Regions from separate parts of the Homo sapiens genome. Here regions 2, 3, 4, 5, 6 and 7 are each linked to region 1. Evidence: promoter capture Hi-C in 16 types of primary human blood cells and fetal thymus (Javierre and others, 2016). All regions are on one chromosome and are shown on one strand. The core of a region is centred on a gene start or on the middle of the fragment in contact, and the rest is flanking DNA. Distances in the headings are between cores, read along the strand shown. Region 1 holds the start of HSPA13 (heat shock protein family A (Hsp70) member 13). Region 2 overlaps USP25 (ubiquitin specific peptidase 25). Region 3 overlaps USP25 (ubiquitin specific peptidase 25). Region 4 overlaps USP25 (ubiquitin specific peptidase 25). Region 5 overlaps USP25 (ubiquitin specific peptidase 25). Region 6 overlaps USP25 (ubiquitin specific peptidase 25). Region 7 overlaps USP25 (ubiquitin specific peptidase 25).

The links. The method cuts DNA at HindIII sites, captures the fragments that hold promoters and counts their contacts. A CHiCAGO score of 5 or more calls a contact.
Region 2: a fragment that was not itself captured here is called in contact with the fragment with the promoter of HSPA13 in region 1 in 1 of 17 cell types (M2 macrophages); the score reaches 5.3 in M2 macrophages.
Region 3: a fragment that was not itself captured here is called in contact with the fragment with the promoter of HSPA13 in region 1 in 1 of 17 cell types (naive CD8 T cells); the score reaches 5.6 in naive CD8 T cells.
Region 4: a contact is called between a fragment that was not itself captured here and the fragment with the promoter of HSPA13 in region 1, in 1 of 17 cell types (naive CD4 T cells). The highest score is 5.3, in naive CD4 T cells.
Region 5: a contact is called between a fragment that was not itself captured here and the fragment with the promoter of HSPA13 in region 1, in 1 of 17 cell types (M0 macrophages). The highest score is 5.5, in M0 macrophages.
Region 6: a fragment that was not itself captured here is called in contact with the fragment with the promoter of HSPA13 in region 1 in 1 of 17 cell types (total CD8 T cells); the score reaches 5.7 in total CD8 T cells.
Region 7: a contact is called between a fragment that was not itself captured here and the fragment with the promoter of HSPA13 in region 1, in 4 of 17 cell types (non-activated CD4 T cells, naive CD8 T cells, fetal thymus and 1 more). The highest score is 6.2, in non-activated CD4 T cells.

What each region holds. Positions count from the first base shown.
Region 1 is chr21:14,381,242-14,385,545 of GRCh38, reverse strand. HSPA13 (heat shock protein family A (Hsp70) member 13) reads left to right here and starts at 2,400. Exons shown (of 5, transcript NM_006948.5): 1 at 2,400-2,451; 2 at 4,003-4,304. The coding sequence starts at 2,427. It overlaps LOC105369304 (a long non-coding RNA gene), which reads right to left and starts at 2,780. Exons shown (of 2, transcript XR_007067924.1): 1 at 1-2,780. RefSeq lists enhancers at 1,864-1,993, 2,384-2,693. The HindIII fragment of the contact is 7,322 bases long and covers 1-3,303 here.
Region 2 is chr21:15,863,246-15,867,549 of GRCh38, reverse strand. USP25 (ubiquitin specific peptidase 25) reads right to left here. Exons shown (of 26, transcript NM_001283041.3): 21 at 3,104-3,282; 22 at 1,206-1,284. Among named protein-coding and RNA genes, the nearest start is that of USP25, 140 kb to the right of the region's middle. The HindIII fragment of the contact is 4,397 bases long and covers 41-4,304 here.
Region 3 is chr21:15,846,227-15,850,530 of GRCh38, reverse strand. It overlaps USP25 (ubiquitin specific peptidase 25), which reads right to left. Exons shown (of 26, transcript NM_001283041.3): 19 at 2,755-2,868; 20 at 659-754. Among named protein-coding and RNA genes, the nearest start is that of USP25, 120 kb to the right of the region's middle. The HindIII fragment of the contact is 8,895 bases long and covers 1-4,304 here.
Region 4 is chr21:15,822,497-15,826,800 of GRCh38, reverse strand. It overlaps USP25 (ubiquitin specific peptidase 25), which reads right to left. Exons shown (of 26, transcript NM_001283041.3): 11 at 2,635-2,762; 12 at 1,740-1,835; 13 at 436-597. Among named protein-coding and RNA genes, the nearest start is that of USP25, 95 kb to the right of the region's middle. The HindIII fragment of the contact is 6,839 bases long and covers 1-4,304 here.
Region 5 is chr21:15,804,555-15,808,858 of GRCh38, reverse strand. USP25 (ubiquitin specific peptidase 25) reads right to left here. Exons shown (of 26, transcript NM_001283041.3): 7 at 3,601-3,738; 8 at 1-50. Among named protein-coding and RNA genes, the nearest start is that of USP25, 77 kb to the right of the region's middle. The HindIII fragment of the contact is 2,050 bases long and covers 911-2,960 here.
Region 6 is chr21:15,783,301-15,787,604 of GRCh38, reverse strand. All of the region lies in intron 4 of USP25 (ubiquitin specific peptidase 25), which reads right to left. Among named protein-coding and RNA genes, the nearest start is that of USP25, 55 kb to the right of the region's middle. The HindIII fragment of the contact is 1,016 bases long and covers 1,801-2,816 here.
Region 7 is chr21:15,751,335-15,755,638 of GRCh38, reverse strand. All of the region lies in intron 1 of USP25 (ubiquitin specific peptidase 25), which reads right to left. Among named protein-coding and RNA genes, the nearest start is that of USP25, 24 kb to the right of the region's middle. RefSeq lists enhancers at 2,275-2,569, 2,071-2,696. The HindIII fragment of the contact is 1,086 bases long and covers 1,774-2,859 here.

The DNA.
Region 1 (4,304 bases), core at 1,151-3,650:
TATTTCATTGTTCCTCTGATTGTAAACAAACAAGAAGGGATAAGTGGTATCAGTTACTACCCCATTTAGTTGATTTAGATAATGAGATGCGAGACTTTTGAACTGATGAAGTATAGATGAACTTTCTGGACTTTGAGTTCATGCTATAATGGGATGGGACTTTGGTGGATGTTGCATTTTGTATGTGGACAGATGTGAATCTGAGGGGCCACAGAACCATTTTAGTAGGCATAATAAAGGCCTCCTCAAACTGTTAGAACTCGTGAATAGTTACCTTACATGGCAAAACGGACTTTGCAGATATGATAAGTTTACAGGGTTTGAAATGGAGATTACGTTGAGTTGTCCAGATAGGTCCAATGTAAACACATGACATCTAAAATTTGGAAGAGCGATGCAAAAAAATGTCCTCTGTAAAGGACCTGACCCGCTGTTGCTGGCTTTGAAGATGGAGAAAGAGGGTCTCTGAGCTAAGATATGTGTATGGCCTCAGAAACTGGAAACAGCTCTCAGGTTACAGCCAGCAAGAAAATGAAGACCTGAACCCTACAACTGCAAGAAAATGAATTCTGCCAATAACTCAAATTAGCAGGAAACTGATTCTCCCCTAGAACATCCAGAAAGGAATGCAGCTTTGCTAATAACTTGCTTTTAGTTAAGTGAGACCCATACCAAATTTCTGATATACCGAACTGTAAAAATAATAGATTTGAGTTGGTTTAAGACACTAAATTTGTGGTAATTTGTTAAGGCAGAAATAGAAAATGAATACAACCTATTTAGTTCAATCTTAATTCTAAAGGCCTTCTACTCTGAGATCACATAATCTTTACCTGCTTCTTGAACAAATCAGGATCTTGTTAGCAAGGAGAAAGGAGTGAGTGGCAGGGAGAATCCCAATGACCAGTGCTTGTCACAGACGGCTAATCTTAATCTGGTTTAAGTCTCTAGTTCTGTCTCTCAGAATTCTACCTCATGCTTTATGATCCACCACTTTCTAATCTATGGAATAGATGATCTCTTGCTTCTGTGCTCTTGGTAATTGAGTTCCGTCTGCCTGGAACACCTCCAGCCCACTGCCCATTACAAGTAATACTTAAGAACTAAGTGCTTGAATTCTTCACTCCTTATAAGAATCTTATTGAACAGCACTCACTATAGACACACACTTTTTATATTTCGCATTATGAAATACTTAAAAATGCGCAAAAGTAGAGAGAACATTACAATGGATCCCTATCAACCAGAATTCAGCTTCCATAATCAAAATTCACATTGATAAGTCAGAAATAACCAGCAATGTATTCCCACAGCAGGCTGACGTGTTGTCAACAGGGATGGTTTGATTTATATCTAAGCTGAGAAAATGGATTCAATTCTCCAGGATCTTAGTTATCGTGAACTCTAACAGCAAAAATGACAAAACCACTCTCAGAGGAGTCATTAAGTGCTACCAGTGACCAAGATGCGAGAAAAATCCTACTTCAGACTAGAACCTGAACAGCATGTCACAAGCGTCCTAAAATGGCTGTCACGTTACAGGACTTGCCCATAAGGTCAATTTTGGCCACTTAAGACTTACTTGAAGAGAGAGCTAAGGGTTTTCTTTTTAATTTCGTTTTTGTTTTTGTTTTTAATGGCCCACGTCAGTGCTAGCAATAGAGAAAATGTGTCCCTGATCCCTTGGATAAATCGAATTGACTGAAGAATGCTTGAATTCATTTATCCCAAAACAAAGGCAGACGGCTGAGGGTCACTGGAGTTTCAGGGCTGCTCCCAGCGTTGGAGCACGGACGCCAGAGCCGACTTCCCTCAGGCCCCGCACTGCGGCAGGGACCCTTCTACGGAGGATGGCTGGGGCTCCGGGAGGCTATAGGAACGCCATCTAGAAGCTAGATCTCAGGCAAACGAACGCGCTTTAAAAGGAATTAAAACGAAAGAACACAAACTCGAATCCTGGACCTGATTAGGGGCACGACCAAAGAAAGAAATAACTAACGGTTCTCACCCTCCCTTTCATTCCCTCCCGCGGAAAGAGAAAGGCTGGAACTCCGCTTCCCAGAATGCAAAGCGCGGGGCGGGGCTAAAGAGATAGCCTGTTTTCCCTCAAGTAGGATCGCGGGACCACAGGTTTGATTATAAACGCCAGTCTCTCGCCACGGCGCTCCTCCCCCTCAGTCTCACTGGTCCTGCCGGCCGTTGCGTGGAAGGGGGACTCAGTCGTCACTGGCAGCGGTTGAATGGAGGCTCTTTGCCCCGCGCCCTCACGGTAGATGAAGTCCTTGCTTTGGTCAGAGCGATAGCTTCTCCGATTGCCTCAGAGCAAGCGGACTACATTTCCCAGGGGGCTGCGGGACTGCCGGGAGGAGTGGGGGCGGTGCCTCACGTCTGGTACAGTCATCACAAGCCTGTTCGGCGGGACTGTGATGGCCAGAGAGATGACGATCTTAGGTGGGTTCCCGGGGGTCCTTGTTGCTCTTGCGGGCGTAGAGGCGATCTGAGGATGCCAGAGTGGGCAGGGGTGGTTGACTCACCTCCTGGATCTAGCTGGAGCAGCGGAAGGGGAGTCAGAAAGGTGACTTAGAGACGGTTTTCGGCTGTTCGGAGTGGATGGGGGCGGGGACGCCTCTAGGAGGGCCCCGGCCCCTGCAGGCCAAGGTAGGATAGACGGCGACCAGCTGTGTCCATCCCAGGGACATCAGGCTTAGGGAGGCGTTCCTTTCAACAGCACCTAGGTTTTTGAATTGCCTGTTGAATTGGGGCAAGCTATGGAAGGCTGCGAGAACGTGCACCTCCAGGACCCCTTTGTGGAGGAAGGGGGAGGAGCTACATCCGGATCTGTCGGCTCAGGGATGCTGAATTTGGAGGCTTTTTCCATCACATCGGGTTTGGAATTACCTATCCCCCACCCACACACACACCCACCCCGCGTCTCCAAGGTGATGAAATGCTTCTGAAATGTTGCCTGTAGCTGGAAGTGGAAAGTGGGATTCGCACTTGGTTTTATTTCTTTGAGTTATGTGTTGATGAGGATGAGCTAACAATTAGTAACACAGAGCCCTGAAAATTCATGTTTTGGGTCATATGTAATATGAGCGGACACAGGTGTATAACACAGCCTCCTGATACCAAATACGAGATTCATTAAAAACTAAAGGGGCATCTTTCTTCGCTTATGTTTACAATCTGCGTGGCATTTGTTCCTACTCTTTTTTCTTTTTTTTTTAAATTAGTATTTGTTGGGCATCTGCTATTCCTGGTCTGGGGGATACAACAGTGAACGAAACTTGTCTTCAAGAAGCTTTCATAGATGTTGCCGTCAGGGTTGCCCACCTTTATGCTTCTTCTCCCCTAAATATTACCACTGCAAGAAGGAAGTCCCTAGTTCATACTTAAATACATAAAAAGTTAACTGTGTTCTGTTTTGAAGTGACAGTTTCATATCTAAGGAACTTTCAAAATCATTTTATCCCATTTATTCATTTCATCCTTTTGAAAGGGAAAAGGAGGTGAGATACGAGGAGAGAATTTTAGACTTATAAAATAATAAAGTTTTTCTTGTGAGAATTTTAATAATGGAGCTTTTAAAAAAAGATAATCGAAGCTTTTTATAAAGCTGTAAAATCTAAATATCAATTGATCAAGAATATTAGATTATATCTGGCTTTTGCTCCAGATAAATGTTGTTTCTTGTCAGCATCTGCACAAATATTATTGAAATATTTTTACATTTTATTACATTTATTAGAGAATGACACAAACATACAGTTATAGGGTTTTTTGTTGTTTGTGTTTACTTCATTTTAAATTTTATTATAACCAGTTTACATTTTGAAAAACTTGCTGTCTGAGAGGAGTGCTATCAGCAGTCCTATAAAAAATTTTGAAATTTGTCTTTTTTAGCCTTGTTTCAACGAGTGATATTAAAGGGACTTTGCTACAGTAATTTAGTACATTGTACTAGTTTGATAAAATACATCTTTTAATTTTCCTTTATTTCAGGATCGGCTGTTTTGACTCTCCTGTTGGCCGGCTATTTGGCACAACAGTATTTACCATTGCCTACTCCTAAAGTGATTGGTATTGATCTTGGCACCACCTATTGTTCTGTTGGGGTGTTTTTTCCTGGCACAGGAAAAGTAAAGGTGATTCCAGATGAAAATGGGCATATCAGCATACCCAGCATGGTGTCTTTTACTGACAATGATGTATATGTGGGATATGAAAGCGTAGAGCTGGCAGATTCAAATCCTCAAAACACAATATATGATGCCAAAAGATTCATAGGCAAGATTTTTACCGCA
Region 2 (4,304 bases), core at 990-3,489, 1.5 Mb before region 1:
ATTTTCATTGCCTTGCTTTTGACAACAAAAATTTTAAGCTTTCAGTGCTCACAATTCTATATATTTGCTGCAGTTTTATTATTTCCTATTTTTGTTTTTAGAGACACTCTTTAGTGAATTAAGGTAGTTACCTTATACGCCAAACTAGCTAAGGTTTTCATCAATAATGAGTGTTTTCTCTCTCTTTCCTCTTCCCTGTTTGTGTAGTGAATTACACTAATTATTTAGGGAATCTAAAGTACCATAATTAAGTTTGTAAATGGAACTAAATATTAAGCAAAGGCACCCAAGAAAACAACTTAAAATTTACTAGACTTATAAATTAAAAAAAAGACAATGCATAAGATTAAATTTAAAAATGTGAAGAAATACTAGGTGTATGAATTCATCAATTAAAATAAAGAATATTTTAAAGCCAAAGTTGACAAAAAATAATTTTGTGCACAAAAAAATCCCACAAGCACATGTACAAGTACCTATGTAAGTGCTCTCTCACACACAACACTGTCTCATGACAAACATATATGGCATATAGGGACTAAAATGAATTAACTTCCCCAAAATATATCTGATGAATCAAAGTGAAGGAAAAAATACAGCCCACAGGGTACAGTTGCACAGTGTAGTGCAACAGTTAAGAATGTAGGTTCTATTAGCCAAGCTGTAAACTTGTGGCTGTGAAAACCTTAGGCAGGTTACTTCACTGCTCTATGCCTTATTTTCTCGTGTGTCAAATGGGAATAAGAACACTACCTATCTTACAGTGTTACTGTCTGAATTAAATCAGTTAATATATGTAAAGGGCTTAGACAAATGCCTGGCATATAGTAGGGTCTTGATAAATATTACTTGTTGGTATTATGTAACAGCAATTTCTAAGTTGATTTCAAAATTAACAATGCATTTGTTATTCTGTTTTTAAGCTAGAAAAGTTCATTTAAAAAGTACTTGAGAATTAGTATTGAAATAAAAAACCAAAAATCTTCCTTTTTTGATTTTAAACTTTTTGGTCTACATGCTATCATATCATGTTAATCCTAAAATCACATATAAAATTATTAATTACTTGAGCATTGACTTGGAAACTTAATTTTTTTACTCATCATTCATAACAAATTCAACTTCAGTTGGGCTGAAACGAAAGGAATATCAGTGAATTACAGAATCCCTAAATCTGTAGTTTAACCTCTAAGAAAGCACATTACCTCATATTCCTCCAAGTTTACTTCTTCAGGTTTTATCATTTCCAGTTTGGCTTGAGCAACTTTCATTATGTTGTGACACCTTAAAAAAAAACACATACATATGAGCGTGTGTGTATGTGTGTGTATATATATATATATATATTTGTAAATCAAAAGCAAAATCCATAAACACTGAGCAAAAACAGCAGTACTTTTGTATAGAAACAACTCCTAAATAACCTTAAGTGAAAAACATTTTTGGGACCAATGTTGGGGAATTACAAAGAAGACAGGAGCAATAATTCTAATTCAAATTTACTGTGTTGTATTGATATATGGCTTTTAAATTACATTCTAATTAACACAGTTTGCATAGGAAAAAAATGAAACTTTTAAAAAATAATGTGCATCTATTAAGCAAGCTCAAGAGACACTGCATCTTCTTTTCCCCCCACATGGTATTATTTATTCTTAAATACTAAAGAGTCTAAAACGTGCCTATCATCTCAGGTAAAAATGGAAACATCCCACTGGATTTTATGATCAGAATCAGTGATAAAGAAATCCTCACGAAATGTATTTATTCACATGTGCATAACTCTGTCTTTCAAGCACAAGTCAGGTTATCAAAACAGATTAACTAGTTATAGTCAGAGAACTGCAAAAGACTGAAAAGTCAATGTGATTACTCCATTAATATCTTCTCCAAATTAAACAGCATAGATCCAATGGAACTCAGTACACTGATAGCACAGATAACGAGGGTCACAACAACCCTGTTTCTGAACTCTCTGCAGTCGCATGTATCAAAATAAATGATGTCCACACTGCTACTAATATAAACAGTAGTGGCCAACATTCACTGAGCATTCAACCACCTATCAGATATTGTTCACAACTATTTATTTGTATTATGCACAGAATCCTACATTTCACGGCACATATCTAATAAGGTAGGATCAATCCAGATGCTTTGCCTCCCCTCATATTCTTTGCTATACACTTTTAACTCAGTATTTTTGAGACACTCATAAAAGGATGATCATTTCAGAATTAAAATTACAATGAACTGCAACAGCATAAATGTTTTTATATATGAAAATAACTTTCAATACTCTAAAATTTCACATGGGCCCTGAAATTATTTTCTAGTGTCACTCATTCTAATTAAATTGTGATTTTTAACATTAGTAGTTTAATAGGACTTTCTGAATAATTCTTTATAAAACTACTAATATAATCTAGAGAAAACATTCTCTGGAAATATTCTATAGAATATTTTCTATATTCTACAGAAATTCTACAGAAATTTCTATAGAATATTTTCTCTTTCCAGAGAAAATATGTCTGCGTGAATCTAATTTAACCCTTCTAAGCCTCCTCTTTATGTCAAAGAATGTTTAATTATTTTATCTGCAAGACTGAAAACTTTTCTCCAGTGATTCTCTAATAAGGGTGACTTTGCTCCCCTAGGAGTTATTTGGCAATACCTGGAGATATTTTGGTATGCCACAACTTGGGAGCTGCTACTGTCATCTAACGAAGAGATGAGGGATATTATTAAATATCCTACAATCATAGGACAGCCCCAACAACAAAGATTTATCTAATTTAAACTGTCTATATAGTACAGAGGTTGAGAAGCCCATTTTTGTTTCTAAAATATTGAGTGTAATAAGTGCAGTGATTACTTGATTCACAATTAAAATTTATTAAAATGATCTAAGTTATTTTCAGTTCAAACTTCAAAAGGCCACAGACTCCAGCAACTAGTCACATTGAGTTCAAATTTTGTTACGTATTTATTAAAATATGTGCCCATGCATATATAAAATAAATACTCAAAAAATTATCCTGGGAATCTGCAGGAAAAAAAAAAAGAACGATTTGAGCATATGAATTTTATACTTTCAAATTACCTTTCATCAAAACTCAAATTTCTATCTCCAAATTGTTCTAGTAATGTTTTCTCAATAATTTTCTTTGGTGCCTGGTTCTGGATAAAGTAGACCACTACATGATGTAAACGATAATCGGTTTCTGGTGGGGTGTCTTCTTGGGCCAACTTAACCAACCTTGCATATTCCAACTTAATTGCCTGGAAAATGCAATGAAAATGATAATTTTGGTTAATTATTTGAACACCAAAAAATCCTTCAATATTATGAGTTTAATTCTTCTTGCATTTAAATCTTTTTTTTTTTTTTGGCTTTTAAAGTATCACAAACAAGGCAGTACAACTAAGAACACAGTCCCATGTTCCATAGACTCAAGGAATTTTCTGAATAACTGACCACAAAGGCCCTTCTTTTAAAAAAAAAAAAAAAAAAAAAAGAAGTCTCCCACTCTCCCCCAGGATGGATTGCAGTGGCGTGATCTCGGCTCACTGCAACCTCCACCTCTCAGGTTCAAGTGAATCTCCTGCCTCAGCCTCCCAAGTAGCTGGGATTACAGGCGCCCACCACCACGCCCAGCTAAATTTTTTGTATTTTTAGTAGAGATGGGGTTTCACTATGTTGGCCAGGCTGGTCTCAAACTCCTGACCTCATAATCCGCCCGCCTTGGCCTCCCAAAGTGCTGGGATTACAGGCGTGAGCCACGTGCCTGGCCACAAAGGCCCTTCTTTATCCCTTCACTATATAAACGTTCTTTTTGCTTCCACACATGAAAGCGGTAAAATATGTCTAAACTTACAATGTGAGTAATTCTGTAAAATTTATCAGAGCCTAGTCAAAGTCTATTCACAGACATCATAAGATGGAGATGGTAAGTTTTCCCGTTCTGTTTTACCTTTCTAAGCATCAGTTTGAACACTAAAATTCTAGAGTTGATATATAGCTCCCAACAATACTCAAATCTGAAAGAAAATTGTTCTTAAATGCATAGTCGTATTATTGCAATTAACTTTTAGCTGAATAGCCCACAAATAAGGAATGCAACATCAAGCCCCGGGGTTATAATTATCACAAAAAGAAGTATTTATTGCTCCAACAGTACGTACATTTTATTAATGTAAGAATAATAATGATAATATATTATCACTATTATTACCTTAAGGTTTAAACTTAGTTTTTCTTTATAAACAAAAATACCTCATAATATACAAATAATAATGGGAAA
Region 3 (4,304 bases), core at 1,174-3,673, 1.5 Mb before region 1:
AATAAAATGACAAAACATACATGGTATTTTCATCTTTCAAATCTGTAAAAGGAAAAAATTGTAATCAAAACATTGTAAAGCTCTGATATTAGAGGGAAAAAGATGTGGGTAAATCATGGAATCGTGTTCAGCTTGATGTTCTCACATGTCTTGAACTGACTAGGTTATCAAAAATTAATTATGGGGAAACATAACAAAAATAATATAATAAATAAATCATTTTATAAACGAAAAAGCAATTTAGTACCTAATGATAATAAAATTAAAGAATATTATGATATTGACCAATAATATGAACAATGAAGATAAAATAAACTATTACCAGGGCAATTTACTCAGTTCTTATTATTGTTCATTAATGTCCTCATTCCCTTCAAATAAAAAATACAATTCAAATTTCTGCTGACAAATCAAAAGCACACTATTAGAGTGACTCAAATAAAAAGATTTTTTTCTTGAATTACCTGGATTAAGAGAAAAACAATCAGTATTAGGTTAATTAATACATAAAATAAAACCCTAGGATATCCGGTGGCCATAACTAAGATAGGAAAAGAGAAATTATACAGAAAACCAAACTGAATTCAAAGAAATAAAATATTTTAAGAAGTTTAATTTTGAAAAAGAAAAGACACGAAAATGAAAATGTTCATTGTACCTTAAAGAACCCTGCTTCAGGGCCACACCTGTCATATACACTCCTGGATTTACCTATCGCCATGATAATACCTTGCATGTTCGGTGTCATCATGATCTGCCACAGAAGATAGTTAACATTAAAAAAAGGTTTTTAAACTAAAATAATTTATTCACATGCAAGCTGAAACTCTTTTGTTTTCCATATTTATAAATCAAATGTTGCACTTTTAATACCAAATTTAATCCAATATGCATGTAAGCACCTTTTAAGATCATCCATACAGGGCACAGCTGGCTCATACGGAGCCTTTGTGCAAACTGCAAAAAGGCATCCTCTCTGAATTGGAGAATTTGAAAAAGGCACCCTGCTTCTAGACAAACAAATTAGAAAAATGTGCTATCCTCTGAGTGAACTATTTAGAAAAAGCAACATCCCTTTTTACCAATTAAAAAAGGTACCTCTTCCTCAAGCCTCAGAGAGCTCATCATGAACTCAATTTGCTTCCCACTTCTGCCCCTTGTCTAGTCATCCTTGCAGAACTGTACAACCTGCACATCCCTGAACAGCAGCCCTGTATCCATAACAACTCATTTTTAAAAGTTCCAATGCACATGCACTGTTAAACTGTCACTGCAATAAATTTTAAAAAACGACAAAACACACAACTCTGTCACATAAGCACTTGCAAAAAAGATAGTGTTAAATGATTAATCACAATTCAACTTTTTTAAATGAGAGAGGGCACATCCTAAAACAAGTACTTAACTGCTTAATCAATAAATTGATAGGTTTATTAAAAACATGCCAGTTCCCATAATTTTCAAGAGCCAGCATGTTTATAAAATAGTTAACTAGAACAATGTAGAGCCATTAAGTACAAATACTTAAGCATTTTTTTTGTTTTCATAATAGCTTATTATTTTTAGCTGTTTACATTTTAAAATATCTGCAAAGTGAAATTACTCAAAGCCCTATGAAGCTATCTTACAGAAATCAAGAGATTGCCTCCGTCACCTCTGATTCACTGAACCTATTACTCATTGTATTTACTTTGGATTATATACTGAGAATTGCAATATATCTAACACCTGCTTGAGAAAACTCTCTGACCAGTTTATCTCACAAATCTGCTTATTCTCTTTATGGCGTGTGATTTCTTACACTGGTACAGTGATATGTCTTTATGACACTTCTGACTTTGGTGATTAACTCTAGCATGATAGTAACATTGGAGTAAGTCAGAAAAAAAGTTACGTGAAAAAAAACTTAACATAAATGCAATTCTTATACAAACCCACAAAAACTAGAATCCAACAAGCATTTTTCCAAATCACCCCCCTCCCCCACTACCCAATAGTTACGGCCTCCTCTGTGTTCCTGTTCAAAAACAGCTTTACTGGCCGTTCCTCAAAAAGAGTAATATTAAGTGTCTCAAGAGAAAAGTGGAAAAGGGGAGAAAATCATCTGATAGAATAAGACAATAGATCATTTTCATCTGGATTCCAAAGAACTAAATCATGAAAAACAAAAATGCCTCCATACTGTTGGAAAACTAAGTAAATGAGAATTAACAGTGAAGAGATAAGAATAAACATGGAGGTCCTATTAACGGTAGGCACTCAGTAACGGTGATGACTTACTCCACTCACAGTCACATGGAGAGGCTGTAGAAGCAAAAATATCAATTATCCATCCTGCAATCATGCTGTGGGATTTTCTGGCAGGAGATAGTGGGAAAAGGATTATAAGTAATTCCAGTAAAACAAGAATGGAATATAAAAAATTATTTTTAAATGCAAAAAATTTTTGTACTAATTAAACAAATCTTATTGTAATCTGCCAACCTGGAAGTAAACTGGTACTATTTCTGCATAAAAGAATTAACTCCACAAACAGAAAATTCTTTTGACAAATTCCATAAGTTTTCTACTTAAATTTTCATTTGAAATTCAAAGTTCTGTTAATAATTGGTAAAGTAATTTTGGACTATGAGGGGGCAAAGCTGTATGTTATGTGGCAATAGACATTAAGTATGAGGGTGCAGGCATGCCCAAAGTATTTGTATTAAATAGCAAAAGTTAAGTAGCAATGGTGCAGAGGGCTGTAAAAGGTACCTCGTCATCATACCCCCCCTCCTTTGATTCAATCATAAATTTCCCTACATGAGGGATCGCCACCTCTACAACTCGCTGATTAGAAAGTGGTTGGCTTGTAGTATTTTCAGGTTTCTGCAGAAGGAAATCATTAATATAAACATTAGAAAAGAGAACAGTGGAGAACAATGGCATCCTTGCACAACTGTATAACCTGCACATCCCTAAGCAGCAGCCCTGTATCCATATGACTTATTTTTAAAAGTTCCAACGCACATGCACTATTAAACTGTTTAAGCACATACTCTTAAATCTTTTAAAAATACCTGCATTGACTTGGTATCAAATGAAACCACTTAAAACTGAACATCAGAAGCAAATGCATTCATCAAGTAGTAATACAAAATCTGCAGTTTTCCCTTTACATCCTCAAACTGGGTATTACCAATATCATTACATTTTTCCCTGAAAGTATTTAGAACTTTAAGTACTTAAGATAAAAAATAGTGGAGTTGTATTTTCTATTATTGTCTGTATAGCTGACAATTTTTTAAAAAGTCCAATAGCTCCCAAAAACCTTTCTTGATATCTCAACCAAAATAAGATATGACCTCCTCTAAACTCATCAGAATTTGTAGGGTTTTTTTCCTTATAATTTTATCCTTCTATTGTTTTTGGTAATCAATTGTGTATCCAGTTAATATCCATATTCTATTTTGTTTAACTTATTATATACAGCCTATGAGGCTCCAGTATATTTATATCTTAAGTGTTCAACAAACACCTGCTGAAAATAAGAAAAAGCTGTTGGAAGCTGATACCCATTTTTAACAACTCAATCAGATTTATTCCTTTTTTTCTTTTTATTGTTAACAAATTCTATGTATTTCAGTAATCTACACTAATACAGAAGTCAGTGTAAAATTCAGAAAATTTCATTCAAAACTTCATGACACTAATATGATTCATTCAAAATACCATACAGATGTTTACATACTTATTTATCTTATTCAACATATTTATAACTAGCATATCCACTATTTACCTATTAAAAAAGCCAAAAGTACTGAAGGTGCTTGAAAACAACTTAAGTAACTGAATTGCATAAGTTTTCATACACAAAGATAAACTTTTGTTTTGATATTACAAAAAACATTTTTATAACAGCAATTAAAGAGGTTTCATTTCCATTAGAAATATGGGTAAATTTTAGCAATGTGAACATTTCCTGGCTTCCTGGAAGCATATATAGAAAAAGAGTTTAACTGAACAATAAAACAAAACAAAACCAATAGCTGCAACTGGTACTGCCCCTTTTAAAATAAACACTATTTTTGGCATGGCGTGGTAGCTTAGACCTATAATCCCAGCAGTTTGGGAGGTCAAGATGGGCGTATCACTTGAGGTCAGTAGCTGGAGATCAGCCTAGCCAACATGGCGAAATCCGTCCCTACTAAATATACAAAGATTAGCCAGGCATGGTGGCACATGCCTGTAATCCCAGCTACTTGGGAAGCTGAGGCATGAGAATTGCTTGAACCTGGGAGGCGGAGGTTGCAGAGAGCTGAGAC
Region 4 (4,304 bases), core at 589-3,088, 1.4 Mb before region 1:
ATAAGATGAAGTTGTAGCTTTAGAGTTAAAACAGCTTAATCATATTTATTTCTAAAAAACAAGAAAATCTTACGCATGGTGATATTATTTTCCCTGGCTTATCAGCTTACATTACAGAAACAAATTCTAATTTGATAGTACTATTTTTATGGATCATAAAATGCTGAATCTTATATATGTACATACCAAAACATGCTAAAGTATAATTCTGAACTGAAAAAAAATGTGATTAAAATTTTAATCCATAACCATAAAATCTACTGAAATAATAAAAAAACTCCCAGAGGACATACAGTCTTCTAAGTGAATCTACTCTTAGGAGTTCACTGAAGTAAATCAAAGCATACATTTTATAGAAACTGTCTTTAAAGGCAGCAGTTACATTATTGTGTAATAAAGGTAACAACTGTCTCTTGCATCAGGATTACTTTTTACCTTGGTAATGTCTGTGATGGTATGGAACCACTAGGTGGGGAACTAGCGTCAATATCGTCAACAGGAGAAGTGCAAACAGGTTTACTTGAGGCAAATTCCAATGCATACTGAAGAACATCTACCAAGGGGAATCGTTTGGGACCGGAACCATAGCTTAAATATCTGTTAATCATAAAATGTACAAATGCTTTTATTTCTATATACAGCATATTTGGGCCTTTATTATTATTATAAAACGTGATACGATACTTCAATAAAACTTCCTCAGCAATAAAATTCATTTGCTTTAAAACGAAGATGGTAAAACTGAATATACACTTAAGAAAAACATTAAAAGTTCCCCAAAGACAGGAAACCAAGGCCGATTGGGACTGAATGTGAGTATATACTGTTATAATCTGTAAATGCTGTTCTAAATTGTAACTCAATAGGAAGATGAAAACTGACATCTCCTGAGACTGTTTTTATTTTTAGATCTGGCATCTGGTCTCATGATCAAGACAGTGATGTGTACTATCCTCCTATCTTTTACCACTAATCATGTTTCAATATGATTATTCATACTTTTTAAGAATAAAAATCATTAAAATACAATATACTATTTGATGTAAGAAGTTTTAGACTACTAATTTGAAAATTCCTAAAATAGGGGAATGCAGAGCAGATTGGGGTTTGCAAACTGAAATGACTTGTGACATTTCAGCCTTTAGATTTCTGTCTGGCCTGTAGAACATTTCTCAGTCCAGATTCTGACGTCTTTTAGAAATGATCCAAATCAATAGACAACAGTGAGGCCATACTCATACATGGTACCATCCACTGGTATGGAATGGCATTCATTCCCTGTACACACAGATTGCTCTCTAGGCTCCCGGCACATACCATCTTACACCTGACACAATTTCCTCCTTTACGAAGCTGCTGAGAAGACTTGGTAGGCAGCTGAGTTTGTATCCTGTTTTAAGGAGAAAAACTCAGATACCATTCATTTTAATGAAAATCTCAAGAGTAATCTTTAGTTTCATGCAAAAAGGAAGGTCAAAACTATATTCATTTAACTTTGTATCTATTTTCAGCAGTAGGAACATTACCTGTTGACAATGAGATATTTAATTTTAAACACTAGAATAATTTTTTAAAGTCTACTATAGATTTTTAGTTTCAAGCAAAACTCAAAACTATTCACACAATATTAACTACTCCTAAAATTATAAATCACTCAAAGCAAATTTGAAATTAAAAATCTAGTCACCAAATACATGGTTTCTGATAATTATCTCCTAATTTCATAAAAGTTAAAATACCTTTCTAGCCTTTGTTGTAATACCGTGAGGTAATCTTTCAGTCTCTTGATCTCTTCCCTCTTAATTCTTGTTATTTCTCTGTTTCTGTGCATGTATCTATCAGAAAAAGGTAATCATTAGCATTTCCGAATATCATGAAAGTAGATGCAATATGGCCAGATGCCAGCGTACCCGGCCTACCACTCTGGGACGCCAAGGCGGGAGGATCACCTGAGGTCAGGAGTTCAAGACCAGCCTGGCCAACATGGTGAAATCTCGTCTCTACTAAAATACAAAAATTAGCCAGCCACGATGGTGGGTGTCTGTAATCCCAGCTACTCGGGAAGCTGAGACAGGAGAATCATTTGAACCCAGGAGATGGTGTTTGCAGTGAGCCAAGATCGCACCACTGCACTCCAGCCTGGGCGACAGAGCAAGACTCTGTCTCAAAACAAAAAAGAAGGAAAGACAGAAAGATAGACAGAAAGACAGACAGAAAAAAACAAAAGAAAGAAAGACAGGAAAACAGGAAGACAGAAAGACAGGAAGACAGAGAGACAGAAAGAAAGACAGAAAGATAGATAGATACAATATTAAGTACAGACATCACCACAAAGCATCAATTCATTCAAAATTGTATAAGATGTAAGGTAGATAATACAAAATGGTATTTTTTAAAATTCTGAATTTTAAGATTACAAAATTCATCTTTTTTAAATTTCCTTATAACATTATTCCCAAAAACTATACTTTTCTAATACAAAGTAAATTTCATCTACCTTGACAAATGGTATTAGGTATATTATGCAAAAGTAGAAATTAATTCTAAGAAAATTATGCAGAATTTTCCTCTAAACAATATTTTCTCCCTTACTAAACTGTTTCAAACTAAGTCATGCAGTATATCAAACCATACCTGTCCAAATATAAAACTTGGGGAAATTCTAATTTGTTGTGAATTTTTTCTGGTCTTCCCAATGCCTGATTAAATTCAAATCTTGACAATTCAAATGTTAACACAGGTGGTAATTCAGTAAACCAATGCTGAAAGGAAATAAAACAATAACAAAAACTTTAATACCACCTTTGTTTTCTTCACTGCAATCTTAGGCACAGGATGTGGGCACTGACATTGTTATATGTATCACCACAATGCGGACCTGACAAGTAACTGGGTACACAGTTTAGTTAAAACTCAACCTCTTTCTAAAAGTTTTCCACACCTCTTGAAAATTCCAAGAGTGGGTATAATATATGATCAGGAAAAAAAGAAATCTCACAACTATCCTTCGAAAATAATTCTTTACATTAGAATTTCTAGCCCAAAGAAAAAGACACTGGTTAAAACCATGACTTAGTAGCTCAAGTCTTCTCTGTCTTCTTCAACGTGATGTTGAATGGCACTTATACTTAACCAAAGCATCAAAATCCTGTGATAAAATAACTTATGAGAGGGAGTACTCAAAAAAAAATTTATATCATAAATCGTCACAACTCTCATACTAAAAATGAAAAAATGGTGTTTTCCTGTTTTAGCTTTAGCTCCTCTGCTGGATTTCATACTAATTTATGAAAAAGACATATCACTAACAAAAAGTTAATACTTAGAGTAATTTACTTAAAATCTTTTAAAATAACTAGTGTTTAAAGAATTGAATGTCTCATTGCTATGAGCCAAATTCTGATAATGAGTATAGCCGTAATTTCCTTCCCCTACCCCCAGCCCCTAATCCCCATACATGCTTTGGTAACTGTTCAATTAAGCATGAAATTCAACATTTTTAAAAGAAAATTATTTTCATATACAACCTCAAATTATACATAAGCATATGTATTTAAAGAGAAAGAAAGATTGTATGTAAATCAACAAAGAACAGAAGTATAAAATAGTTCTGAAGTGCTTATTATAAACTGCAATATGCGAAACTGCTGCATAATCTATTGTGTGTGATAATTTCAAGTGTCACAAAATGCCACCACACATCTGTCAATAAGTTAAGAATATACCAAATTTAAATTTGAACATCCAAAAAAAGCATGAATGGCACACATCTGGCAAACTGAATCTGAGGAGGATCTGGAAAGTTGCTACTTTTCTCTACAGCAAATAAAAGCAAATGGTATTCAATACTATTTCTCTTTCAAAATGCTATAATTACTTGAACTGAGATTTCCTGAGCTGGATGGTTATCTTTTACTGAAAGCTAAAGTTTAAGGAATTTGTTTTATATGGATAATACCTGAAACGGATTAAATAAAATTATGAAAAATATAAGAAACATCTCAAGTTTTAAAATTTGATTAGCAAAGTTTGCTTACTCATTTTGATCTCACATGGAACTGGCAAGAATTTTTGAGTTAGTTCTAATCCACATATAAAATTATTATTAAGAATTAAAACATTACCCCAGACACATCAGAAAGAACACTTTTGATTCTTTAGGATAATATTCTCTGCTCCATTTTATGATACTCAAACAAGAAAGTAGATTTCAAGAACTATCACTTTCATATTTTATTGCAATACTTTAAATGTCACCATTAAAATTAAATAGTTACATATTTTAATTCATGGAAATCTACAAT
Region 5 (4,304 bases), core at 686-3,185, 1.4 Mb before region 1:
GCATCTTCTAACCAATCTAATAATTTGTGTGTAAACTCACTCACATCTTGCTGTGAAAAGAAAAAAGCCTGTTGATATTTGAGCCTACTAAAAAAAAAATACTAGATGTTGTAACATCAAACCTAGAGCCAGTTGTTGAAATATATAATTACCAACTCCTTACAAAGATAACAAGTGAAATGTTTCACACGAAATGCAAGAAACTTTTATAATTTAACCAGGATATAAGATATTTGAAAAAACAAGCATTATATGATAATCAATTATTGGGTTTCACTTTAAAATACACACACACACACACACACACACACAATCAAAAACCAAACTTACAAATGAGATTTTTAAAAAATAATCATTACTCCCCACCCAAAGAGCTCTGTAATGAATCTTTATAAAATGAAGAAATCATCTTAGCAAACAGTTCTTCGTTTTATAAAGAATTATGACTGGCTTCTCTCTTAGAAGGAAGACTAGTCTCTTTCCACAATTCACTTTTCTTAATTCAACTTACACACACAACTTTTTAAGCCATATCTACCTTTACTATCATTCAGAACCAGCCCATTTATCACCTTTCACCATGCCTTTGGTCTTTGCTCTCCCAACACGGAAAAACAGGAATAGGTTGTGGCAGTTGTGTTATCAACTACCATAATTCTTTCAATAACGTGAGTTGGAACACAGAAAATAATAAATAGAACATAAGGGAAAAACAATAAATCAACTCTACTGAGGCTGCTTACAGGCAGATGAATCAGTAGTAAGCAATTTGTCCTTACTTACCAAAATAGCCCCAAATACAAAACAAACTTACTATCATATATTTTTTCAGCCAGCAGTTTCTTAAAGAGCATGTAGGCCAACTTTATATTAACCTCAAAAAAATGTTGAAACTAAAGTCTGGGAAGCTTAAGTAAACTGCTCCAAAGCTGTAGAGTTAAATAGGACTAAACGCAACGCAAAAATCCAGCTGTAAACATTCATAACATCTGTGGCGGGTTGAATAGTAGCCTGCAAAAATATATGTCCACCTAGATCCTCAAAATGTGACACTATTTAGAATAATGGTCTTTGTCAATATAATTAAGGTAAGGATCTTGAGATGAGATCAGCCTGGATTAGGGCTGGGGCTAAATCCAATGGTGAGTGTTCTTGTAAGAAACAGAAAACCAGAAGACAGACAGACACATGAGGGAAAGCCACATGAAGAGGAAGACAGAGATTGGAGCTATGCTGCCTCAAGGCAAGGAACACCAACAGCCACCAGAGTACGGTGGAAGCAAAGGATTCTCCCTCAGAGCCAATGGAGGAAGTGTGGCCCTGCCAACACCTTTACTCTGGACCTCTGCCCTCTAGAACTATTAGAGAATAACCTTTTGTTTTTAACCACTCCATTTGTTGTAATTTGTTACGACTGTCCTTAGGAACTATTGTAACACCTTAAAACAACTTTTCATACTTTTGTATAACTTTAATTCACTTAAACATTACATCCAACAAAAAATAAGGTTTCCTAGCTAACACAATATTTTTCAGAAGTTAATCCCTATCTTTCTTAGAAATCAATCTAAAATTGACAATTATAAAATAAAACAATTAAAGGTATGATTAAAATTGACAGTATCAATTGGGGCCAAGTGTGGTGGCTCATGTCTATAATCCTAGCACTTTGGGAGGCCAAACCAGGAGGATAGCTTGAGCCCAGGAGTTCGAGACCAGGCTTGGCAACATAGGGAGATCCTGTCTCTATAAAAATAAAATAAAATTATTTGCCAGGCGCGGTGGCATGTGCCTGTGGTCTCAGCTACTTGGGAGACTGAGGTCTGGGGAAGGGTTGAGCCCAGGAGGCTGATGCTGCAGTGAGCCATTGTCATACCACTGTACTCTAGCCTAGGTGACAAAACAAAACTGTGTCTCAAAAAAAAACAAACACGGAAAAGAAAAAGAAAAAACTAACAGTATCACATACCAAAGGGTGTCTCAAAAGACTCCTGTGTACTTCAAAAGATGATGTATTTGAAATATTTAGGAAGAAGATACAATGAAAATATAAATTCACTTTTAAAAAAATCATGATGCTTACATTTACAGATTCACTAAATTACTCCTGTAGACTTCAAATTCAAGTGTTTAGGGAACAGAAGAGAATCAAACTTATCAACCTTAATTGATGCACATCTACTTTAAAAGGCCTCTAAAGAAAAAGAATCACTAATTTCAAAAGTTAGTCTACACTGCTAATCTGAAGCAAAAGCATTTATATTGTGGCCTTAACCGCCAGTTGTATCCATTTCAACTCTAACTCAAACTGAAAAGCCCACCTATGTACATACATGGCTCCAGACAAAGTCTATGCTGCCTCATCTTTAAATGTGAAAAGATACCCCAAAATCAACATGAATCTCTAGAAAAGAAAGAAAAAAAAAAAAGAAACCAGAAAAAAGACAAGGAAAAAGCCATCCAGAAGGAAAGATAAGTCAGAGAACAGAAGTAATCTTTTAAAAAATTTAATTGTATACTCAGAATCACTGGAAAAGATACTATGCATACTAAAGAAGAAAAAAAAAAGTAAAACACATTTAGAACCAGAAGGAATGCTGAATGCCCGAAAATGATGGTTTGGAATCAACTGTAAAATTATTTCTCTTTCTTTTGATTTGTGTTAGTGTTACCATGACAGAGCGAGTAAGAAACAAAGCTGAGTAGATACTAAGCCTAAAAGGCACTGGAGCATTGTTAGAATTTTTTTTAAAAATGCAACAACATATAAAAGAAACTCTGATGTGAGTGCCCTTTTTGTTCATTCACATTTGCCATACAAGGTAAATGTAAAGCAGAAACAAAAAGCACAAGGAAGATGGTGAGAGAATCTCAGACCTTCCTCTTCCAAACGCCCTCTCCATACATCACAAAACAGAGACACATCCAAGTATGTACTTTAAAAAACAACGCTGCAAGCTTAGTGGCTTTTTGAAACTTCTGCCATTACACATTGCCGCTATCTTTTTGAACACTTACTATTCTTTGCCACTGTATTTTTTCCTCTGTTTTCCTTCTTTAATTTCTCTGATTTTTCCAATTATATGTGAAAATACTGGTTTGTTTATAGATATTTTGTATTTTTTATAAGAAAATTACCAATATTCTTTTAAGGTAATGGATAAAAATCTACCACAATACACTATATAAAGAATAAAAGACAAAAGCAACAATAACAAAGATAACATCTTTCAAAAACCATTTCTGGGTAATTAAGGAAAAGTACTCCCTGCCAGCAAACACAGGAATATCAAAAGCATGTGTACTATAATGATCCTCTGTTATCACACATTTGTGAACATGTTTAATTATGTATTTGTAAATAATCTTAATTGTATCCATCGTTTTCATTTCAATCATAATATAAATTAAAACTTTATTTTAACACCTTCAAGATCACTTTTCTCTTAAAAGTCTCCCAAATGTTTTAAATGGTTCCAGGTTATTTTTAATAAAGCAGAATCATGCATCTCAAATAGTCTCATATTCTTGGGAAAGGTGCTTAATATTGTTCAGATTAAATACAAATGGTTAATGAACAAGTCAGTGCAACAGAACTACCTGCTGTGAGTCATTTGATTTGAAAGCATCCTTAAGAATTTCAACTGCTCTTGATGGATCAACATACTTCCTTTTGGTACCAACAAGAAGTGCAAATAGATACCTCAGCTCACGCATAAAAGGCAAATTCCGATGTTCCTATTGAAGGAAAAAAACAAAAACAAAAACACCTTAACTGAAGATTAAGAAAATTTTTACTAATAAATATTCATTTTAACAGTAACCAAAAATTAAACTAGCCAATATAGTTTAGGGATGAATTAGCACTCTATCATAATTGAAGAAAGTAGAGTGTTGGTGCCATCTAAGAGACTCAAAGAAGTCCAGCACAAAAAGGCAGAAGACCTAGGATAGGCTCACAATTTCAGCATGAATGCCACATATTCACAGCAAATCATGTCATTACTCAGCCAAGAATATCTTCCTCATTCAAGACTGCTTCTCATAATACTTCCCATTCAGCAAGGCCCAGCTGCTGCTGCTCAGAGCAATAATAACAGCCAACATTCAATGAGTGTTCACTACATGCCAGGCACTGTTCTAAGTGCTTGATCTCAATAAACCCATTTAGCAAAAATCTCCACTCCTCCATGAAGCCTTTCCAGACTCCTTCAAGTCAACGATACCTTCAAATTCCACATCTACTGAAATAAATGCCTTTCACTGAGCAATGAATCACCGACTGTCACTGTGGTGTGACAATC
Region 6 (4,304 bases), core at 1,059-3,558, 1.4 Mb before region 1:
TGGTCTTCCAATTCATGAAACAGCGAATGTTTCAAAATATTTATGTATTCTTTAATGTGTCTTAATGATATTTAATCATTTTCTTCCTGGAAGTTCTTGTACATTTCTTAGATTTACTCCAGTTAACAGTTTTTGTCAAAAATCAGTTGGCTGTAGGTGTGTCCATTTCTGGGCTCTCTATTTTGTTCCACTGGTCTATGTGTCTGTTTTTTACACCAATATCATTGTTTTGGTTACTATATTCTAGCAGTACATTTGGAAGTCAAGTAGTGATGCCTCTACCTTTTGTTCCTTTTGTTCAGGCTTGCTTTGGCTATTTGGGCTCTCTTGTGGTTCCACATGAATTTTTGGGATTGTCTTTTCTAATTCTCTGAAGGGTCACTGGAATTTTTACATGGACTGCAGTAAGTCTGGAGATGACTTCAGGTAGTATGGCCATTTTAACATTAATTCTTCTAATCCATGAACATACGATCTACTTCCATTTGTTTGTGTCTTATATTTCTTTCCTCAATGTTTTATAGCTTTCAGTGTAGAGATCTTTTATCTCTTTGGTTAAGTTTATTCTTAGGTATCTAGATTTTTTGTAGCTCTTGTAAATGAAATTGTTTTCTTATTTTTTCAAATAACTCACCGTTAGCATATAGAAGTGCTGATTTTTGTGTGTTAATTTTGTGTCCTACACTTTTACTGAATTCACTTATGAGTTGTAGCAGTTTTTTGGTGAACTCTTTAGGGCTTTCTATATTTAAGATCATATCATCTGGAAACAGAGACAATTTTACTTTCTCCTTTCCAATTTTGATGTCTTTTATTTCTTTCCCCTGCCTAACTGCTCTAAGACTTCCAGTACTATGTTGAATAGGATTGGTGGAAGTGGGCATCTTTGTTAGGTTCTTGATCTTAGTGGAAAAGCTTTCATTTTTTTCTGCATTCAGTATACTACTAGCTGTGGGTTTCTCAACTATGGTCTTTACCGTGTTGAGGTACATACTTTCTATATCTATTTTGAGAGTTTTTATCATGAAGGGATGTTAAACTTTGTAATGTGCTTTTTTCTGTATCTACTGAAATTATATGGTTTCCGTTCTCTTTGTTACTGTGATGTATCGCATTTATTGATTTGTGTATGTTGAACCATCCCTCCATCTCTGGGATGAATCTCGATCATAGTGGATGATGTTTTTAATATGCCGTTGAATCGGACGTGCTAGAATCTTGTTGAGAATTTCTGCATCTAGGTTGATCAGGGATATTGGCCTGTTTCTTTTTGTTGTGTCCTTGTCTAGTTTTTGAATCAGGGTAATGCTGGCCTCATAAAATGAGTTTGGAAGTATTCCCTCCTCTTTAATTTTCTGGAATAGTTTGAGAATTAATATTAGTTGTTCCTTAAATGTTTGACACACTTCAGCAATGTAGCCATCAGAAACTAGGGATCTTTATGTCAGGCTTTAGCAGTTATTCAATTCTCCCACTCGTTGTGGTCTGCTTATTTTTTCCATTTCTTCTCAATTTAATCTTGGTAGGTTGTGTGTGTTCAAGAATTTATCCATTTTTCCTATATTCTAGAATTTGTTGGTATACAGTTGTTCATAATAGTCTCTTGTGATCCTCCAATTCTGTGATACATTTGTAATGTTTCATTTTTCATGTCTGGTTTTATTTATTCGAGTCTTTTTTTTTTTCCTTTTTTCTTAGTCTAGCTAAAGGTTTGTTGATTCTGTTTATCTTCTCAAAAAAATTTCACTGATCTTTTGAATTGCTCTTTTAGTCTCTATTTGTTTACTTCTGCTCTAAGCTTTATTATTTCCATCCTACCAATTTTGGGTTTAATTTGTTCTTGCTTTTCAGGTTTCTCTGAGTTGCACAGTTAATCTGTTTATTAGAAATCTTTCCTCATTTCTGATGCAGGCATTTATTGCCATGAACTTCTAGAACAGGTTTCACTGTGTCCCACAGGTTTTTGTATGTGTTTCCACGCTCCTTTGTCCCAGGGAACTTTCTAATTACCCTTTTAATTTCTTCACTGACCCATTGGTTATTAAGGTGCATATTAACTTCCATGTATTTGTTGGTTTCTAACGTTTTTCTTGTTGTTGATTTCTAGCTTTATATAGTTGTGATCTGGTAAAATACTTGATACCATCTCTAACATACGATCTTTACTGGAGAATATTCCATGCACAGTTGAAAAGAATGTGTATTCTGCGGCTGTTCATGTTCTGTAAATGTCCATGGTGTAGTTTAAGTCTCATGTTTCTAAATCATTTGTCTACTGTTAAAAGTGGGATGCTGAAGTCCCTACTATTGTTGTACTGGAGTCTATTTCCCCCTTTAAATCTAATAATATTTGCTTTATATATTTGGATGTTCTGGTGTTCGGTGCTTATATATTTACAGTTTTGCTTCTTGGTGAATTGATTATTTTATTATTACATAATGACTTTGTCTCTTTTTACAGTTTTTGACTTAAAGTCTATTGTATCTAGTACAAGTATGGCTGCTTCTGCTCATTTTTGGTTTGAATTTGCATGGGATATCTTTGTCCATTCCTTCACTTTCAGTCTATGTTTATATTTAATGATGAGGTGTGTCTCTTGTAGGCAACATACAGTTGGGTCTTTTTTTTTTTCAATCCATCCAGCTGCTCTATATTTTTTAATTGGGGAATTTAATCCACTTACATTCAAGGTTACTACTGATAAGTAATAATTTACTCATGCTAGTTTGTTTTCTCAATATTATGAAGATTCCTCGTTTGATTCTTTCCCTCTTGTTTACTTCTGTGGTTTGGTGGTTTTCTATAATGCTAAGCTTTGTTTCCTTTCTTGTTTGTCTATCTACTATAATTTTTCTTGTGGTTACCATGGAGCTAACATGAAGAGTCTTACAGTTACAACAGACTATTTTAAGCTAATAACAACTTAACTTTGGTCACACAAAAATAATCTAGACTTTTTCCCCTCACTCCCCTACCCCACCATGATTAGTGTTTTGATTGCTGTAATTTACATCTTTATCTTTTTTTTTTTGAAACAGAGTTTCGCTCTTGTTGCCCAAGCTGGAGTCCAATGGCGTGATCTCGGCTCACCACAACCTCCACCTCCCGGGTTCAAGCAATTCTCCTGTCTCAGCCACCCGAGTAGCTTGGATTACAGGCATGCACCACCATGCTCAGCTAATTTTGTATTTTTAGTGGAGACGGGGTTTCTCCACGTTCATCAGGCTGGTCTCAAACTCCTGACCTCAGATGATCCGCCAGCCTCAGCCTCCGAAAGTGCTGGCATTACAGGCGTGAGCCACCACGCCCAGCCACATCTTTATCTTTCATGTGTTCCTTAGCCACTAATTGTAGCTGTTGATATTTCTGACATTTTTAACTTTAAACCTTCATATTAGAGGACGGAAGGAATTACACAGCACCATTACAGCACTGGGGTATTCTGAATATGATTATGGATTTACCTATATTGATGAGTTTTGTATTTTCACATATTTTCATGGTATTAATCATTCTTTCATTTCCTATTATTTCCTCTAAGTGTTTTTGTAGGACCAGTCCAGTGGTGATGAATTCCATCACCTTTGCTTGTCTGGAAACGTCTCTATTTCTTTTTCTTTTCTTTATTTTTTTTGAGACGGAGTCTCGCTCTGTCGCCCAGGCTGGAGTGCAGTGGCGCGATCTCGGCTCACTGCAAGCTCCGCCTCCTGGGTTCACGCCATTCTCCTGCCTCAGCCTCCCAAGTAGCTGAGACTACCGGCACCCACCACCATGCCTGGCTAATTTTTTGTATTTTTTTTTTTTTTTTTTAGTACAGACGGGGTTTCACCATGTTAACCAAGATGGTCTCGATCTCCTGACCTCGTGATCTGCCTGCTTTGGCCTCCCAAAGTGCTGAGATTACAGGCATCAGCCACTGCGCCCGGCCCTTCTTTTTCATTTCTTAAGGATAGCACTGCCGGATATATTCTCTGCTGACAGTTTTTATTTTTATATTTTATTTTTATTTTTTCCCAGCACTGTGAATATGTCATCCCACTCTCTCCTGTCTTGTGCAGTCTCTGCTGAGAAATGTACTGACAGTCTAATGGGAATTCCCATATATGTGACGTAATGTTTTTGTCTTACAGCTTTTAGAATTGTGTACCTTTGAGAGGATTTTGAGGGGCTGAATTTTATTGGGGATCTTTTCATTCCTAGATGTCCATAACTTCCAAGACTTCCTTCCAAGAAGTGCAGAAGGACACAGGCAATCTATTTAACCAAATGGGTGGTCTATGCCTCTCTTCACTTATTCTTTCTC
Region 7 (4,304 bases), core at 1,067-3,566, 1.4 Mb before region 1:
ATTTAATACAGACATACCCACACACCCTCTAGAAAGTTACTCTCATTTCATAGCTAACACAGACTTCAAGACATTAGTAAGTGCAGAGACAGGGTTGAAACTTGGTCGTTCAAATTCCATGTCCTTGCCATATTTTCTCAACTCTAGGATATCTAACATTGGAGATTAAAGATTCAATAAAAAATGAAAACTCAGTGCAAAAATCCACTATTATGTTGATGTAAAATACTTATAAAATGGTAAAAGAAAACTAAAGCACCACTGACAACAAAGGAGAAAAACAGTTTGTGTTAAGCGGTGGGTGACTCATTAAGTCAGTCCTTGGCTCCTTCAGCTAAATTTCCAAATATAAATGAAACTTGGTTCAGGAAAAGAAAGTCAAAGGTTTCCATCCTTGGGGATAGGTGTAAGGCGGGGGGCGCAACTCTTAGAATGACCTCTAAAAAAACCTTCCAAATTTTCTAAGAACAGAGGAAAAAAAAAAAACTGATAGAAACTCCAAAGACATTCTTAAACTTCAGAATCACACGCACTGCTAAGCACCAAATGTAGGCATTTCAAAGTTACCTGTCAATGACAAGATTAATTCATTATACTGTCTTTAAAGTGAGTAATCACACACACACCTGATTTTGCAAAAACCTCTGCATCTACCTGCTAACACTACACTGCTCTAGCTCATGTTCTCTTACCATAAGAAACCTCTAATACTCACTGTCCAAGAATTTCAAGTACATAACACATCCTTCATGTTTGTAAGTCCAAACCAGTCTCTAAATAGCCAGAAAGCAAAGAAGAAGAAAAAATCTCCTGAGTCATGTTTTTCTTGTTAATGTGTAAGCCGGATCTTTCATTTCCCTCAACTGTAATATTCTATGACTTGTCTGAGGAATTTTCCTATAGTATAGTCCTCACAGCTTAAAGGACCTCTGCATGCTAGAGTCCCTACCTCTGTCCCCAGCACTAACTTGCTTTGCTTTCCCCCTGGCATTCCTCTTCCCTCTCTTTCATTCAGGGTCTACAGAACACCATTCTCCTTCATAATGCAAAGGTCTCTGCACATGTAGGTGCCTTCTGTGAGACTCACCACAAATTATAATAATACACTATGGTTAATCACAAGGTAAATCCAAAGACGACAAGAACTCTTAAACTTCAGAAGCACGTGCACTAAAGCACTGCTAGGCACCAAATGTTAATCATTTCAAAGTTATCAATGAGACCATAATTCGTTCATCACTGTACTCCTGGTACATACATATAATGCCTGGCACATGGCAAGCAATCAACATTGACTGAATAAATGAATACAGCAGAGCCTGCAGATGTGAGCTGGAACAAGCCATATCACAAGACAAGCTTATCCCACAGAAAAGAGGCACTAACTAATTATTGGAGATGGGAATGCTGGGGCTCAGGACACACCACCTCCAAATAAGACTGCAGGCGACTAGAATATGCCACCCAAAAATATACTTCTTTGGCATATTTTGAGGTAGTTATTTTGAGAAACTGCGGACACAAGAGTAACCTTGAAAAACTGTCCTTTTGTGAAAAAAAATCCATTTTTAAAGGAAATCTACATTAGAAAAAGTATCTGTATCAGCAAGAGGGTTGCAACAACTTTTATTACTTGAGTGACTTTTTATCTACACAAGACACCCTTTATTCACCATACATTTCCTCCCCCACCCTCTCATAACTTGTGTTGCCACCCCTCCCAGAAGCCCCAAACCCCTATCACTTTTTGTAGCTCTGGATGCTACATAAGCTTCAATCATGTGACCCTTCTTCAAGTCTCTTATTTTGTGGGACTCCTGTAAGTACCTATGTAATTAAAATGGGTTTTCTCCTGTTAATCTGCCTCTTGTCAATTTAATTTCTAGTCCAGCCAAAGAACTTAGAAAGGTAAAGAGAAGCCTTTTTTTTTTTTTCCCTCTCATACAGGAACGAGAAGCATACATATATCAGGCCAACTAATAAGCACATTTTCTAATTCTTCTAAATTGAAGAATTCTTCTAAATGACATAAGTCAGGCCCACTTACTAAGCAAACTTTCTACACTCCTACATTCCATCTAGAATTTCCCAGTTCTGGTCCTGTCAATCTCACTTGAAGGTTTGTATAAAATATAATATTACTGAAATTCCCTATTGCAAATAATCTATATGACAGTCCCATGAATGTGTAAGCAGACAAGGAGGGTCCCCCGGGACTATAGGAATTTAATCAACTTAAGTAACTGGCCTGTTTACAACCTCCTACCTTGCCACCTGTTTTTTCCCAAACCCTGTGAGGAATGAGCTCTCACCTAGTCAGTTGGAGCCAGCTCCTGACAGACCCTCGCAACATGCAGATGAACCCAAGTGAACTTTCCTCATTATCATGCTAAAGTCAGCACCCTGGGGGGGAACTACAGCTTCATTACCATAACACGTGACCTACCTGCTGACATAGTGACTCACTGCATTTGCACCACTGGGACCCCTCCTCTACATGTGATGTCACACCCTCTCCCCTCTCCATCACCCCATAAAACCTCCCTGTCACTTTCCCTAGAGGCAACAATGCCCTAAAGAATACTCCAAGTATTCTCCTTATTTGTGACAAGTAGTAAAACTCCTACTGACCAAAACCTGCATTCTCTTGAAGAGTTGTTTATTACTCACCAGGCAACTAATCCTGGTTTTCAAGTTTTTGGCGGGTAACAAATGGTTCAGGTATGCTGCATATCCTACTGTCACAGATTGAAGTTTTTCTCAATCTTTTTGGATTAACAGCACTTTAGCATTAAAATAAATTACTCATATACCTCTATGGGCACATAAATCTGAAGGTATACCCTTTCCATTAAAGCTTAAAAATGCCAAGAATTCTAAATTTTAAGTCTCTTCCTACTTTTTATAGAATTCCAGAGCTAAAACATTAAGCATTCATGCAATCCAGAAAAAAGAAATGAGATACTTTATGAGAAATAGCTAGCAAAGAACAATGGATATAGTTAGTCCTAGATAAATGATGGTTTCCATCCTCCCTTGCCACAGAGTCCTTTTTCCTACCTGTCACCCAACCTTTCAACCATATCTGCATCATGTTTATGACCCTTAAGAGTATTCCCCATCTGGGCCAGGTGCAGTGGCTCACGCCTGTAATCCCAGCACTTTGGGAGGCCAAGATGGGTGGATCACAAGGTCAGGAGTTCGAGACCAGCCTGGCCAATATGGTGAAACCCAGTCTCTACTAAAAATACAAAAATTAGCCAGGCATGGTGGCAGGCGCCTGTAGTCCCAGCTACTCAGGAGGCTGAGGCAGGAGAATTGCTTGAACCCGGGAGGTGGAGGTTGCAGTGAGTCGAGATCACGCCACTGCACTCCAGCCTGGGCAACAGCGACTCCATCTCAAAAAAAAAGGGTGCAGTGGCTCACGCCTGTAATCCCAACACTTTGCGAGGCCGAGGCAGGCAGATCACCTGAGGTCAGGAGTTCGAGACCATCCTGACCAACATGGTGAAACCCCATCTCTACCAAAAATACAAAATTAGCCAGGCGTGGTGGCGCATGCCTGTAATCCCTGTAATCGGGAGGCTGAGGCAGGAGAATAGCTTGAACCCAGAAGGCGGAGGTTGCAGTGAGCTGAGATTGCACCATTGTACTCCAACCTGCGCAACAAGAGCAAATCTCTGTCTTAAAAAAAATTTTTTTAATTACAATGTAAAAGAGTATTCCCCATCCCTATTAATTAGTAGATAAAATAAATACATCATGAGTAGAAACTCTAAATGTATTTCTCCCAAAAAATACTGTTACTCAGCACTATAAGCTAAGTTCACACAGAGTTACATTTCTAAATAAGAACACACCACCAGGAAACATGGTTTCTATGGGAACATGTATTTTCAGTTCCAAAAACCCAACTTGCAAAATCTTTTGGAACACAGTCTGTTTTTAAATTAGAGTGCCTATATTCTGGAAAACAAGTAGGTAAACAAAACTTTTATGAATCAAATCATATCCTTAAATCACTATGTCTGCAGTTTAAATAAAATATGTATTTAACTTGTTGATGCTAATAATCAGATTCCTATTATAGCTCTCTTGTCCAATTAAATCTTTATGCATCTCTAGTTTCTGTACTTGTTTGCCTAATTAGCTTATAATCCAAAAATAAACTCCCTTATACTAATAAAACAAAATAAACGTGCTCTAAGTAGAACTCTGAAACTGGAATACTATATAATTCCTAGCAGTTATATTTGTCACAATTCTTTAAAGCAAATACAGTTTTTGGTCATGCTAATTACTTA